2 separate regions of the Homo sapiens genome follow, and region 2 is linked to region 1. Evidence: promoter capture Hi-C in 16 types of primary human blood cells and fetal thymus (Javierre and others, 2016). All regions are on one chromosome and are shown on one strand. The core of a region is centred on a gene start or on the middle of the fragment in contact, and the rest is flanking DNA. Distances in the headings are between cores, read along the strand shown.

Evidence for each region. Contacts are between HindIII fragments. The CHiCAGO score rates a contact against its expected background, and 5 or more counts as called.
Region 2: a fragment that was not itself captured here is called in contact with the fragment with the promoter of CTDSP2 in region 1 in 1 of 17 cell types (non-activated CD4 T cells); the score reaches 5.7 in non-activated CD4 T cells.

What each region holds. Positions count from the first base shown.
Region 1 is chr12:57,842,097-57,849,263 of GRCh38, forward strand. It overlaps CTDSP2 (CTD small phosphatase 2), which reads right to left and starts at 4,633. Exons shown (of 8, transcript NM_005730.4): 1 at 4,276-4,633. The coding sequence starts at 4,339. CTDSP2-AS1 (CTDSP2 antisense RNA 1) reads left to right here. Exons shown (of 2, transcript NR_188077.1): 2 at 163-1,665. RefSeq lists silencers at 3,075-3,124, 3,455-3,754, 4,345-4,774, 4,785-4,864, 4,935-5,114. The HindIII fragment of the contact is 5,566 bases long and covers 744-6,309 here.
Region 2 is chr12:57,120,375-57,127,541 of GRCh38, forward strand. No RefSeq gene overlaps it. Among named protein-coding and RNA genes, the nearest start is that of LRP1, 4.5 kb to the right of the region's middle. RefSeq lists an enhancer at 7,116-7,167. The HindIII fragment of the contact is 886 bases long and covers 3,719-4,604 here.

The DNA of each region.
Region 1 (7,167 bases), core at 3,383-5,882:
AATACCCCAAATTACCCAAAAGCTAGCAGAAAAAAAAAATTGTAGGAGGAATTGGAAGGGAAGCTATGTATTGATATGTACACACATACACACAATCCCATATATATTTACATATTGTCTTTCTTTTCCATGCTTATTTACAAACACTTTAATTCTTCACAGGTTGGGAGCATCAATTCACGTTGGCTAGAAATGTGACTTCTTTAGTATTTACCATTTTAACAAAATCCATGATAAGGGATTTGGAAGGTCCCATGGAAAGGATGAAATGACACCTCTCTGCTACCCAGTTTCTTTAAGACCTCTACGGTTGAGAAGAGAGGACAAAGGAACACCCCCACCTCTGCCATCCTCCGAGGGATTTTTCACAGCAATTCCAGTGCTGCTCAGTGGAAAGCTCTGCAAGTCAACTGCAAACCCCCAGCCCCAGATGTTAGGCATTTACAAACTTTGTTGCTGATTTATCAGCGCTCCTCTGCAATTTTGGGGACAGGAGCAAACACAAGCTTAAGTCACCACGCAGGCTGCAACCCTTACCCAAAGATGGGGGAAAAACTCCAAAGGAGATGCAGGAGGGAGCCTCAGCAGTCACTGTGAGAGCACAAAGAGGCCAAGACCCAGGGTAGGCAAAGGAAGGTGAGAGGCACCAGCAGGGCAGGAGGAGGAGCCAGCTATAAACATGCAGGCTTCCCGCCCCCTGCATAGCAAGCTATGGAAGGAAGCTCCAGCAAGATTCATGTCTAAGCTTTTCAAGTTAAAGGCTTGCCTACATCTACAGTGAACGGTGTCTGAACAACTTTTTGAGGGAATAAGGCAGAATTTCTCCCTTATGCGGATAACAAAAGAGCTAGCCATCCTGAAAACTTGCCACATCGTAATTTTCAGAGATGGTCAGTCTCTCAGAAGAATCCTTGCAATTAGCTATCAGAACCTGTCCAGTTCGGCATGTGAGAAGGTAATCCAGGGCATCATCGAGAGGAAGGGGCATCAGGATTCATGGACAACAAAAAAATCTCTGATTCCTCCAAAAGGCGTGTGGGTCACTGAGCTCCGGAAGAGGCTGCCTCCACCAGGTCTCATTTCACGTTGGGAGGTTACAGCGTGGGTCTTGTTTCCTTGGCTTTCCCCCATCTAATCCCAAAGCCAAGGTCACAACCTCTTAGCAATGGGGTGACAATCTCATATAGAGCTGCAATCAACAGCCATTCTTGCCAAGCTGATATTAACATTTCTTTTTTCTTTTTGATGTTACACACAATCCTGTCCTTGCTGTACCAGAAAGCCATTTCACCCATCTGTCTGGGAAGATGATCCAATTTTGGTGCTTTTATCATCAATGCTTTCAGCAACTTTGTTCTACTTCCCCTACTGTAATTACTTTTGAATCATCAACGCACCCAGACAGCCTTAAACCTCAGAGAACAGAATGCTAAAAAAAGAAAAAAAAAACCCGCAATGGCAAGTAACTTCACTAAATAGCCACCCAAGCTAGGAGCAATTTGTTTCTTTCCAGAAATTTACTTATTAATAATAAGTACCTCACACTCCTTCTTCCCCTTTTTCCAAAGGCAGGCAAGGCATGGAGATGGGATGTTGTGGAGAGGACGGAGTGGGGAGAAGAAGGAACTCCAAAAGGAGCCAATTAAAACATCTGCTTCCCCAGTCCCCCAGCTTTTGTTTTTTGTTTTGTTTTGAAGACGTAGGTTTTGTTTGTAAATGATGTGGGACTCAGAAAGTTGGTTTAGTGGTTGCTGGGTGCCTAAGCAGCCCAGGAAGAAAGTCTGTCTTCTCTGGAATGCAATCAAATTACATGGGGAGGGGCCGGGCGCGGTGGCTCACGCCTGTAATCCCAGCACTTTGGGAGGCCGAAGGGGGCTGATCACCTCAGGAGTCGAGACCAGCCTGGGCAACTGGCGAAACCCCTGTCTCTACTAAAAAATACAAAAAAATTAGCCAAGCGTGATGGCGCGCGCCTGTAATCCCAGCTACTTGGGAGGCTGAGGCAGGAGAATTGCTTGAATTTAGGAGGCGGAGGTTGCAGTGAGCTGAGATTGCGCCACTGCACTCTAGCCTGGGCAACAGAGTAAGACTCCATCTCAATTAAAATAAAAAATTACATGGGGAGGGAGAGACCCAGTGGCTGCTGGCTTAAACCACACACACAAAAAAGGAGAAACATTAACTCCAAGAAAATCCAACACCAGCAACTTAACACTGTCAAGCCAGTTGCTTTGCTTTCTGCTGTTATCTATTCTGTAGCCTGCCATTCACCCTGGTGGATGAAACTTCCAGCTCTGATTTCTAAGATGCCCCGGCGCAGTCCAGCTTTCCCTTACTCCTCGCGTGGCCCCACGATGCCCAAGGCACACTCCCTGCAAGAGAGTCCCTGCAAGAGAGGAAGACCTAGTGGGGAAGCACAGGGCTCCTCCCCCTACTCATCACCACTGCCCCCTCTTGAATCCCCCCACATCTAGGTTTCTTCCCCTCTGGCTAGCTCTTAGGGTCTTTTCCTGGGATAAAAAGGGAGTGGGAAGAGTCAGGAGTGAGCTATAAACACACGCAGGCTCCCTTCCTTTTTCAGCCATCAGCACAGTTGAGCAGCCAGCAGAGGCGGTGAAGTTGCTGCCTGGGTCACAGCCTGGTTAGTGATGCAGCCAGGAGAGCAGAAATCATGGCAACACCGAGGTCAGGGAGGCCGGAGCCTTCTCGGGGGTTGGGATCTGAGTAGGCAAGGCCATCCCTTCTCAGGGCAGGCTTATTTAAAGTCCGGCCAGTGATGCAAGAGGAACACACTGCCTCCCTCCCCCCACCCTTCCCCCCTCCCAGCTCCTCTCGTTCCACTGAGGGAATTTGGGAGAGGCTGACACCACCAACTCAGCGGATTTGCCCCTAGGGAAGTTGGGGGAGCTCCTTGGAACGTGAACCCCAGGAATTAGTGACCTGCTGACTAATGTTGCCAAACGGGGAGACGTGGGGCGCACGAGGCCCCGAAGCTGGCCGCCCACCAGGCTCTAGGCCTCAGTGTGTTCAACTGCAGCACCGGCCCTTCGCGCTCGGTGGAGAAGGGGAGGGAGCGCTCCGGCTTCGGCCCCAGGAGCCAGCTCCCGCCCCAGCCTCCGGGGCCAGGTGGCCCCGGTCGGGGGGCTCTCTAGAGAAACGCCACACTCGTCCTTACACCCCGCGGAAAATCTGCCGCTATTTTGGACACATTCCTCAAGGCCAAAAGAAGAACGTGGCGGAGGGGGAAAGAGTTTCGAGTCTCCCACTGTGACCAAACTAAGAGGTTCCACCCTCGGGCCCCAGCTTTCTCCCGCCCCGGGAGAGGCCTCGGCCTCCGCCTCACCCCCGCGAGGGCCTGCGGGCCCCCTCGCGCCTCCACCTGACGCTCTGGAAGGCGGGGGCCGCCAGCCGCTGCCCACAGAGAACTCGCACTTTTTCGCTGCGCGATTCAGAACCACGCCGGGTCTGATGCCATCCGGCGAATTATGTAACCAGGGACACCGCTCCCGGGCTAAACAAACGCGGCTCTGTGTGTGCAGCGCCGGCCCCGGGGGAGCGCACCGGGCAGGGAGGGGCTCTGGCCGGGCCTCAGGGTCGGGCTTGTTTGCTCAGCGAAACTGGTCAGAGGCAGCCGGGAGGGAGCCCGACGCCGCCAAGGTCCCGGGGCCTGCGCTGAGCCGGGAACCCGCCACGTCTGGTGCGCCAGGGCCCGGGCCCCTCCCCCACCGCGACCGCCCCCGCCTCCAAGAGGTGAACTTGGTCCCAAGTCCCGCCGGACGCCGTCACCGCCAGCTAGCTGCCCGAACGACCTCGGGCTTGGGGGGGCCTGCAAGTGCTGGACTCCAGTCTCGGTTCCGTTCCACCTGGGGCTCCCTCTGTCACCTTCCTAACCCCTCCCCGCGATCCCGGGGCAGCCGCGCGCGGCGGTGAAGGAAAGTGACGACCCCACCCCCAACTCCGGAGGCGGTGGACGCGGAGTGGCCCAGTGCTTCGAGAGCTACCCCTCCGTCTCTCAGCCCCGAGGGGGAGGGGTTGCGGGACAGGGTGACAGCTGCGCCGAAGACGCCCTTTCCGCTCGGGCGCCGGGATCCCCGTGCAACCCCCACGGAGGTCTGAGTGCCAGCCGGGATGCGGGGGCGGATGGACCGGAGGGGTCCAGTCGGGATCGCTGGCTCTAAGCCCTGGAGGTCAAGGGCCGAGACCTGGGTTCGGGGCTGTGCTAGCCCCCTCCGCGCCCGGGGGCGACGCAAAGTTTTGGGAAGTTGCTGCCCCTACCTTGCTTGGTGAGCACCAGGGCGTCTTCCCTCCGCGCCTGGGTGATGATGGAGCCGTGTTCCATCTAACAATCCCGCGGGCCCGGGCTGGCTGGGCGGGAGGACGGGCGGGCGCGCGGGCTGGGCTGGGCTGGGGGGCCTGGGCGGGGGCCCGCTCCGGCTCCCGAGACTCCGACTTCCACAGCTGTTCACATCCCCCCTCTCGTTTCCTCCCCGGACCGGGAAGGGAGGCGGCCTGTACAAAGGGCGGGCGGCCCGGGCAGCGGCTCCCCCGGGTGCCCCCGGCCCCGATCCCCCAGCGGCAGCTCCGGGCTCCTCAGTTTGGGTCCAACATGGAGAATCCGGAGCGAAAACAAGAGGAGGAAATGGGACACGGGGCGGTTTCCAGGCTCCCCCCTCCCCTCCGTACTCCAGATAAACAACCCGCGGCTGCAGCGCCCACCCCCGCGCGCCTCCCGGCTCTCGACTCGGCCTCTTCACGGCCAGCTGGAGCTTCCCGCTGGGGGCTGCGTCCTAGGCCCTGGGACCCTCCATCTGTGAGCGGCCGGGGCTGCGGACAGTCGGGAGCTTTGCTATTTTGTTACGGAAAAAGCGAATCCTCAAGGGGGGTGGGGTGGCGGGCGGGCAGGCTGGCGGGGGAGACTTGAAACCGTTCCGGTGCTCCGATTGGCTCTCTTGGAGAAAAGGGGCGTGGCCCCTCCTTACTATGCGGTGAGAGGACCTAACAACATTCCAGGCGCCACGGCCACGCCCCCGGGCCACTCCCCCCGCGCCAGACTGCGGCCTCCCAGTCTCCTCGGCCACACCCCCTTCCCAACTATTTAAAAGGCCGCTCCGAAGCTCACGTTCTGGTGCTCTGTGCTGGGGTGTTCTTTTCTCGGAGGGCGCACTCGGGGAAGGTGGAAAGGTTTCCCCCTTCAGGGGTGACCAAGACAAGCCGCTAAGCCTAACCTGACTCCAGCAGGGGATGGGGCGGATCGGAAGTTACCTTACCCCCCTGCTTAGCCCTAGAATCAAGGACGTACCAAGTCACATAAAAGTACAACCGTCGAGGCCAGGCGCGGTGGCTCACGCCTGTAATCCCAGCACTTTGGAAGGCCGAGGTGGGTGGATCACGAGGTCAGGAGTTCAAGACCAGCCTGGCCAAGATGGTGAAACCCCGTCTCTACTAAAAATACAAAAAAATTAGCCGGGCGTGGTGGCGGGCGCCTGTAATCCCAGCTACTCGGGAGGCTGAGGCAAAGACTTGCTTGAACCCGGGAGGCGGAGATTGCAGGTAGCCGAGATCGCGCCACTGCACTCCAGCCTGGGCGACAGAGCGAGACTCTGTCTCAAAAAAAAAAAAAAAAAAGTACAACCTTCGAATCCCGAAAGGGGTGTGTGCGTGTGGGCGGACCTAGGACTCCAGAGTATAAGAGCTGGAACTGACCTCGGGACTGTGTCCCCCAAAACACTGAAAATGAGACCTGAGGTGCTGGGCTTTCCTCACACCCACCGACTTACTCCCATTTAGGCGGCCCCGACTCCGCCCCTCCTCCCTACCTCCCTCATCCTACCCCTCTCTTTTTGCCCCCACAGTCCCAGCTTCCTTTAGATGGATGGAGGTCTCTCGGAGGAGCTTCAGCTTTGTGGACTCAGGCTGCCTTCCCCACTTGCTCTTTAGGCCTCGGGGCACGCTCCGCTGGCTACAGCTCCTGGAGTCTCTGCTCAAGGTTGTGGGTGCTTTTGTTCCCCAGCGGTGGTAGCTCCAGAAAGGCTGGTTTCAGCTCAATATCAGGTCTTTTCCAGTGATCTACATCTGTCCACAGGTGACATGGGCTGCCTTGGGACAATGGTAGCTGTTCAAGTCAAGGCCGGCAAGAGTGGTGTAGAGTGAGATTGCACTGGGTGACTTCTGAGCTAAATCCAACCCCAATATTCTGTGATTCAGTGGCACTCACCCTGCCAAGGAAGGGGCTTCCTTCCTGCTGCAGTTCCCATTGCCCAACATGCATCAGGTCTTACTGATGATTAGAGGACAACTAGGTCACAGCTAAGCTTGCCAGGTACTATCAGACACCTGCTTCCTATGGTCCCTTCCTCATGAGGACAGGTGAGGTCATGATCTGCATATGCCTGTGTGCCATACAGTGATCATGTGTGCCTGTTTCTGCTGTTCCTACGCACGTATACAAAACCTTTTTATATAACATCATTTTAATGGAAATGCTGTTTTTCCAAAATGAAAGTGGCTGTTACAGATCTGAATGATGCTTATGTAACTTTAAACACTGAATTTGGGTAGATCTTAATTCATTAACAGAAAGGGAAACGGAGGAGTTCTGACATACCCACCTCCCATCATTAAAACAATAGGATCTTTAAGGTAAATCTTCAATAGTCAGGTTGCTATGGGGGCCTTTTTAGACCCTTCCCCTGCCCTCTTCTAAGGTAGATTAGTTGCAGTGGGAGGAATGCAGGCAGGAGCTGAGGACTGAGGATTTAGAGGGGCCTGCTACCCATAGCACTGTAGGGCAGGACACTTCACTTCGTTATGCTTCCATTTCCTCATCCATAGAGACAATACCTCCCCTTTTGTAATTTACAAAGTACTTTCACATATATTATCTATTTCATTTGATCTCTCACTTCTTTGAGGTTGATAGAGCAGATATTATGCCCATTTTTATAGATGCCTGTTTTGTAAATGAGGAATTGGTCTGGGAAGGTTAATTGACTCACCTGAGACCTCACAGCTTGTTAAGAAGAGGAGACAGGATGTCTTTGGACTTTAAGACTAGAACCCTTGACACTTTAACATAGTTCCCTTCTTATCTATAGGATGGAGGAGACACTAGAACCTATCGCTCTCTTTTCCTGCTGTGAACTCCAATTGCATCACCTCTCCTGGAAG
Region 2 (7,167 bases), core at 2,912-5,411, 720 kb before region 1:
AGGCGTGAGCCACCGTGCCTGGCATAATTTGCATTTTCTTAATAACTAAAGATGTTGAGTTCTTTTCTTTTTCTTTTTTCTTTTTATTTTTGAGACAGGGTCTCACTCTGTTGCCCAGGCTGGAGCACAGTGGCACAATCACTGCTCACTGCAGCCTCAACCTTCTAGGCTCAAGCAATCCTCCTGCCTCAGCCTTTTGAGTAGCTAGGACTGCAGGAATGCACCTCCATATCTAGATCATTTTTAAATTTTATTTATTTATTTATTTTGAGATGGAGTCTTGCTCTTGTTGCCCAGGCTGGAGTGCAATGGCACAATCTCAGCTCACTGCAACCTCTGCCTCCTGGGTTCAAGTGATTCTCCTGCCTCAACCTCCCAAGTAGCTGGGATTACAGGTGCCCACCACCATGCTCAGCTAATTTTTGTATTTTTAGTAGAGACAGGGTATGGCCACATTGGCCAGGCTGGTCTTGAACTCCTGACCTCGTGATCCGCCCGCCTCGGCCTTCCAAGGTGCTGGGATTACAGGCGTGAGTCACCACGCCCGGACTTTTTGTAGAGATGAGGTCTCGATATATTGCCTAGGCTGGTCTGAAACTGCTGACCTCAAGCGATCCTCCCACCTTGGCCTCCCAAAGTGCTGGGATTACAGGCGTGCACCACTGCACCTAGCCTCGAGTACCTTTCATATGCTTATTGTCCATTCATTGGGTTGTCATTTTATTACTATGTTATAGGAATTTTTAATATATCTCGCATTCCTCTGTCCCTTCTCAGATCAATGTTTTGTCTATCTATTTGGCTTACTTCCACATTTTCATAATAATGTCTTTTTTTTTTGAGTCAGGGTCTCACTGTCACTCAGGCTGGAGTGCAGTGGCACAATCAACTCACTGCAGCCTCTAACTCCTGGGCTCAAGCAATCCTCTCTTCTCAGCCTCTGGAGTAGCTGGGACTACAGGTGCACACCATCACACTCGGCTAATTTTTTAAATTTTTTGTAGTGACAGAGTCTAGCTTTGTTGGCCAGGCTGGTCTCAAACTCCTGGCCTCAAGCAGTTCTTCTATGTCAGCCTCCCAAAGTGCTGGGATTACTCCATAATGATGTCTTCTGACGAGCAAAAGTTTTCTATTTTGATGTTTCACTTATCAAGAAATTTATGTTATTGCTTTCTATAGCTTAAGAAGGGGTTGCTTTCCTCCAAATTATGAAGATATTCTGTGTTTTTGTCTAAAAGCTTTATGATTTTAGCATTTGTGGTTTAGGTCTATAATCAATCTTTTTTTTTAGACGGAGTCTCGCTCTGTCACCCAGGCTGGAGTGCAGTGGCGCGATCTCGGCTCACTCCACCCTCCACCTCCTGGGTTCAAGCAATTCTCCTGCCTCAGCCTCTTGAGTAGCTGGGATTACAGGTGCCCACCACCACACCCAGCTAATTTTTGTATTTTTATTTTTTTAATTAATTAATTTTTTTGACACAGAGTCTCGCTGTCACTCAGGCTGGAGTGCAGTGGTGTGATCTCAGCTCACTGCAACCTCCGCCTCTCAGGTTCAAGCGATTATCCTGCCTCAGCCTCCTGAGTAGCTAGGATTACAGGCATGCACCACCATGCCCAGCTAATTTTTGTATTTTTAGTAGAGACAGTGTTTTGCCATGTTGGCCAGGCTGGTCTTGAACTGAGCTCAGATGATCCACCCGCCTTGTCCTCCCAAAGTGCTGAGATTACAGGTGTGAGCCACCATGCCTGGCCTGTTAATTGTGTATTTTTAGTAGAAACAGAGTTTCACCATGTTGGGCAGGCTGGTCTTGAACTCCTGACCTCTGGTGATTCAACTGCTTCAGCCTCCCAAAGTGCTGGGATTACAGGTGTGAGCCACTGGGCCCAGCCTATAATCAATCTTGAATTAATTTTTGCATATGGTGTGAGGTAGGGGTCAAGGTTCATTTATTTCTCCCATATAGATATGAAGTTGTTCCATAACTATTTATTGAACAGACATTCCTTTCTCCACTGGCTGGCTTTGACATCTTTGCCAAAATCAAATGACCTTTACAGTGGGATCAGCCAGTTGGTGCAATACGAAGTCCCGCCTCTCATCCCCTCACAGAAACACAGATTTAACAATTTACTGATCAAAATACCTTTATGAGAAGTACAGAATCCGGTTGAGAAGTGTGGTACCCCAGACAAGTAGAGAGCTGAGAAAAGCTGCACTGAGATGGATCCTACATTCCTGGGTCTGGGAGTGGGCCTTTCCCAGAGATACCATCCTCCAGCAGTAAGAGACCTCCAATAGTCGGGTCTCAGACAGGTTCCAGCTAAGAGTAAAATCCCAGATCAATGGTGAAAAGGAGTTTAAGAATGGATGCTGAAGCCAGGCATGGTGGCATGTGTCTGTAGTCCCAGCTACTTGGGAAGTTGACAGGGGAAAATAGTTTAAGCCCAGGAGGTTGAGGCTGCAGTGAGCTATGATCATACCACTGCACTCCAGACTGGGCAACAGAGCAAAACTCTGTCTCAAAAAGAAAAACGAAGCCTGTGCCTAGTCAACATTGAAGCAAGAATGCAGAAGTTGCACAGGGTGAGATAGGGATGAGCAGGGTGGAGGGGTGGTAAACACAAAGGAATTGCAATAAGAAATCAAACAACTATCTGATTTTTTAAAATTATGTTGAGATATTTGGGGAAAATGATAGATGCATAGAAAACTAATCAAACGAAAAATAATTCCAAGATAAAAGTATATAAAAGTAACATTATAAAATAATAAACGCATATAGAATTTTTATTAAAAAATCAAATGATTGTGAGTCTATTTCTGGTTCTCTATTCTGCTCCATGGATCTGTTTGTCAATTCTCATGCTAGCACCACATAGTCTTGATTACTGTCACTTACAAGTCTTGAAATCAAGTAGCATAAATCCTCCAGCATTGATTCATTTATTTTTCTTTTTGAGACAGGGTTGCACTCTGTTACCCAGGCTGGAGTGCAGTGGCATGATCATGCAGTGATCAGGTTCACTGCAGCCTCAACCTCCTGAGCTCAAGCAATCCTCCCACCTTAGTCTCCTGAGTAGCTGGGCCTACAGATGCATGCCACCACAGCACTGGGATTTTTAAAAACTCTCCAGGTGATTCTAATGTGAGCCAAATTTTCTAGACTCAGATTTCTCTGTCACTATCTTCAGGCCTATACAGTTAACTGGTTAGTATACTAGATCCTACTTCTTTATTGTTTCTGAATCCTCTTCCTCTCCAGCTCCATCACTCATGCATTAAGGACTTCACCAATTTCTCAACTGGCTCTACACTACTTCTAGAAAAAAAATTCTAAGTCCTTACTGTGGCTAAAATCACGCTTTGTGATTAGGCTTTCTGATACTTCATCCAACACTCTCCCCTCAAAGTACCTTAAACTTCAGCTATGATACCATATTTGATGTTCTTCACATGTTTTAAACTTCTCATGCCTCCAATGCCTTTCCTGCCATCCAGCCTAAAACACCCTTTCCTTTTGTTATTGGTTGTCATTTTCTTCCTCTCATTCAACATTTAGCCTGGCATCATCTGCTGCTCTCTGTCTTGACCACCTTGTCTGGAAGAGGTATCCTTCCCATGTTCCCATGCCCTTCTGCACATGCCTTCATCACAGGTGTTAAGGAACTGACTGTATTGTCATTGTCTGTCTCTTGTTGAGCACCCAGCTAACCTGAAAGCTTCTTGAAGGCTGAGACTGTGTGTTTCCGTCTCTTATCCCTAGTGCCTAGCAATGTACTTGCTTATACGAGGTACCTAATATTTTTATTAAGTGAATGAAATCTGGGCTTGGATCTGCACCATTATTTGGGACAGATTCTTTAATCTCTCAGAACATTCTATTTTCTTATACACACTGGAAATAACACCCATGACAAAAGGTAGACTTAAGTGAGCTGATACTGTAAATAAAGTCCACTGCGTGGGCCTGGGACATGGTATGCGCTCAATAAATACTGGTCCTTTTCCCTCTCTCCGCCTGCCATCAGACCTTTCCGGGATACCCTTCCTACGCACACTTCCTTAACTGACCACTAGGTGGTGCTAGCCTCTGGCTTGACATTCAGTTCCAGAGCTACCCAATTAACGCCCCAGCCCAGGCCCTGCTATACTCAGAAAAGGCGGGTATTTTGTAATTTGCTGAGCGACCCGAAAAAAGAGATGCCCTTTACCCACACTAGCTTCTTTGCCCTCATCACCATTCCAGGTATCAATCATGAATTTCAGAGAATTCCTCCATGATTCCCTACTATTATGGTTATAATCTCAACCCAAGGATTTGAAGATGCCTCTTAAGAACAGATGTGGGGAGGAAGAGAAGGCACTGAGGCAGAGAGGATTAAACAATGAATGCTATAAGAGAAATAGAGGGAAGAAGATGCTTGAAGTCACATCCTGTTCCAGGAAAGGCAACTCTAGTCCTAACATTCCTTTCACCAATCAAGAGCCTCTCACGCTGGGTGGAAACGAAGAAGAAAAAGACATGGTCCCTGCCCTCAAGGAGTATATAGTCTAGTGGTGGATACAGAGCCCACAAAATAAAGTGCTAAACTCTGGATACTGAAGCTTTCCTGAATACAAGTTTGGAACAGGAGAGATAGGCAGAGCGAGAATAACAGGAGGGCTTTTCTGAGGAGGGTAGAGGAGCAGGGGAACTGTATCATTAATGGCTCAGATAGAAATATGCATTCTCAGCAGGGTGAGGTGGCTCACACCTGTAATCACAGCACTTTGGGAGGCCAAGGTGCATGGATCACCTGAGGTCAGGAGTTTAAGACCAGCCTGGCCAACATGGAGAAATCCCATCTCTACTAAAAACACAAAAATGAGCCAGGCATGGTGGTGGGTGCCTGTAATCTCAACTATTCGGGAGGCTGAGGCAGGAGAATCGCTTGAACCTGGGAGGTGGAGGTTGCAGTGAGCTGAGATCACACCACTGCACTCCAGCCTGGGCAACAAGAGTGCAACTCCATCTCAAAAAAAAAAAAGAAAGAAAGAAAGAAAGAAAGACATAAATATGCATTCTCTCACCTTACAGACATACCCTCAGCAGTTCACCTGCTGGAAATAACCCAAGTGCCCAACAATCCCAACAAACTGTGGAACATCCAAGCAAGGAGATTCCAAGTAGCCAAGATCAAAGGGTGAGCTAAATGCGTTCATACGGTATGGAAAGGGATCAAGCTAAGTTAATTGAAAAAAAGGCAAGTTACAGAACACTATATATCATATGAGTTTCTTTATAGTTTTAAAGGATATTCACTTATATTTGTATGTTACTGTTTTATTTATTTATTTATTTGAGACAGGGTCTCCCTCTGTTGCTCAGGCTGGAGTGCAGTGGCACGATCTCGGCTCACCACAACCTCCACCTCCTGGGTTCAAGCGATTCTCGTGCCTCAGCCTCCCCAGTAGCTGGGATTACAGGTATGCGTCACGATACGTGGCTCATTTTTGTATTTTTAGTAGATATGGGGTTCCGCCATGTTGGCCAGTGTGGTCTCGAACTCCTGAAAAGTGATCCTCCCACCTTCGTCTCCCAAAGTGTTGGGATTACAGGCATGAGCCACCACGCCTGGCCTGTATGTTACTGTTTTAAAAACTCTCCTGGCCGGGCACGGTGGCTCACGCCTGTAATCCCAGCACTTTGGGAGGCTGAGGAGGCCAGATCACGTGGTCAGAAGTTCGAGACCAGCCTAGCCAACATCGTGAAACCCCATCTCTACCAAAAATACAAAAAAAATTAGCTGGGTATAGTGGCGTGTGCCTGTAATCCCAGCTACTTGGGAGGTCAAGGCAGAAGAATCGCCGAACCCGGGAGGCAGAGGTTGTAGTGAGCCGAGATTAGGCCACTGCACTCCAACCTGGGCAACGGGGCAAGACTCCGTCTTGGGCGGGGGGGAAACCTCTGCTGGTAGGGGAGACCTGAAGAACTGTTAGTAGAAGTTACTCTGAGGGTGCAGCTGAAAAATGGGGGTGTGGAGAGCATCAAGTTTCCTTTTACTTTTTACCTTCCTGTACTTTTTTTAACCACTAGGTATTATCTTTTCTTTCTTTCTTTTTTTTTTAACAATATAAAGTTAATAAAAATACACATTCACATTCAGGAGACAGCAGGGGATGGGAGGTTGCAAGTGAGAAGTGCATGCTGACTGAGGCCAGGTTTTGGAAAGCCATGACTGAAGAGGAGTTCACATTTGACTGGTCTATAGACACCCACTAGAGGTTCCCCAGCAAGGAAGAGACACCGGGAAAGCAGTTTTTGGAAGATTCACCTGACAGATGGGTAGGGGGAGGGAGGAAAGCCCCTTCAAGCCCTCAGGCTACATGTGGTTGCTCCAGATACCGTTTTCCTCTCAAAGCTGTCAAGCTGTCTAAAGTCTGTTTCGACCTGATTTCACTTGGATCCCAATACTGGGAGGGGCCCTGGGAGGAACCTCGTAGGCATTTGGTGAGTCCGCATAGTGCGTCTCACATTGTGTTGGGCCATGGGAGCTGGATAAAAGGAGAAATAAGACCCCGTTCCTGCCTGGAGCAACTCTCTGGCAGTGGAAATGGAGGAAATCTGAGATATACTTCAGAGGAAAAAAATGACAAGCCTGGAGCACAGGCTGGCAAGATTGGATATAGGAAGGAAAGGCCCCCTTGAGTTGGCATAAAGTCTGAGGTTTCTAGCCCAGGAGACTAAAGGCAGGTGGCCACCGCGCTGAGCAAAGCCGGCTGGAAGAAGCTAAAGGTTGAGCTCACTGTCATTAGGAGGCAAGTCCTTCGTGCTGCTCCTGTTTCTGCCAAGGACAGACTGGAGTGGGGACTTTTCCGTAACTAGAACGTAAAAGGGGGAACAGTCCCTCCTCTCCAGCGTCAATTTTTGGCAGCCGACGTCGTCTGCCCCGCTCCTTGAACTCTGACATGCAGACACCTAGAAAGTCAGACACTAAGGTAACAGCCATAAAACGCCGCCCAGAAGGGGGCAGTGACCAAAAGCACGTTCACTGGCCCCTGGGAACCGCCTGGCGCCTGCCTTCTGCAAAGTATCATTCCCGTGTGGGCTGAGCCTGGGGACAAAGGTCCGGCGCTCAGCAGACACCTCCTTGGAACCCGAGGCCTGGAAACGAAGGTCCAGAGTC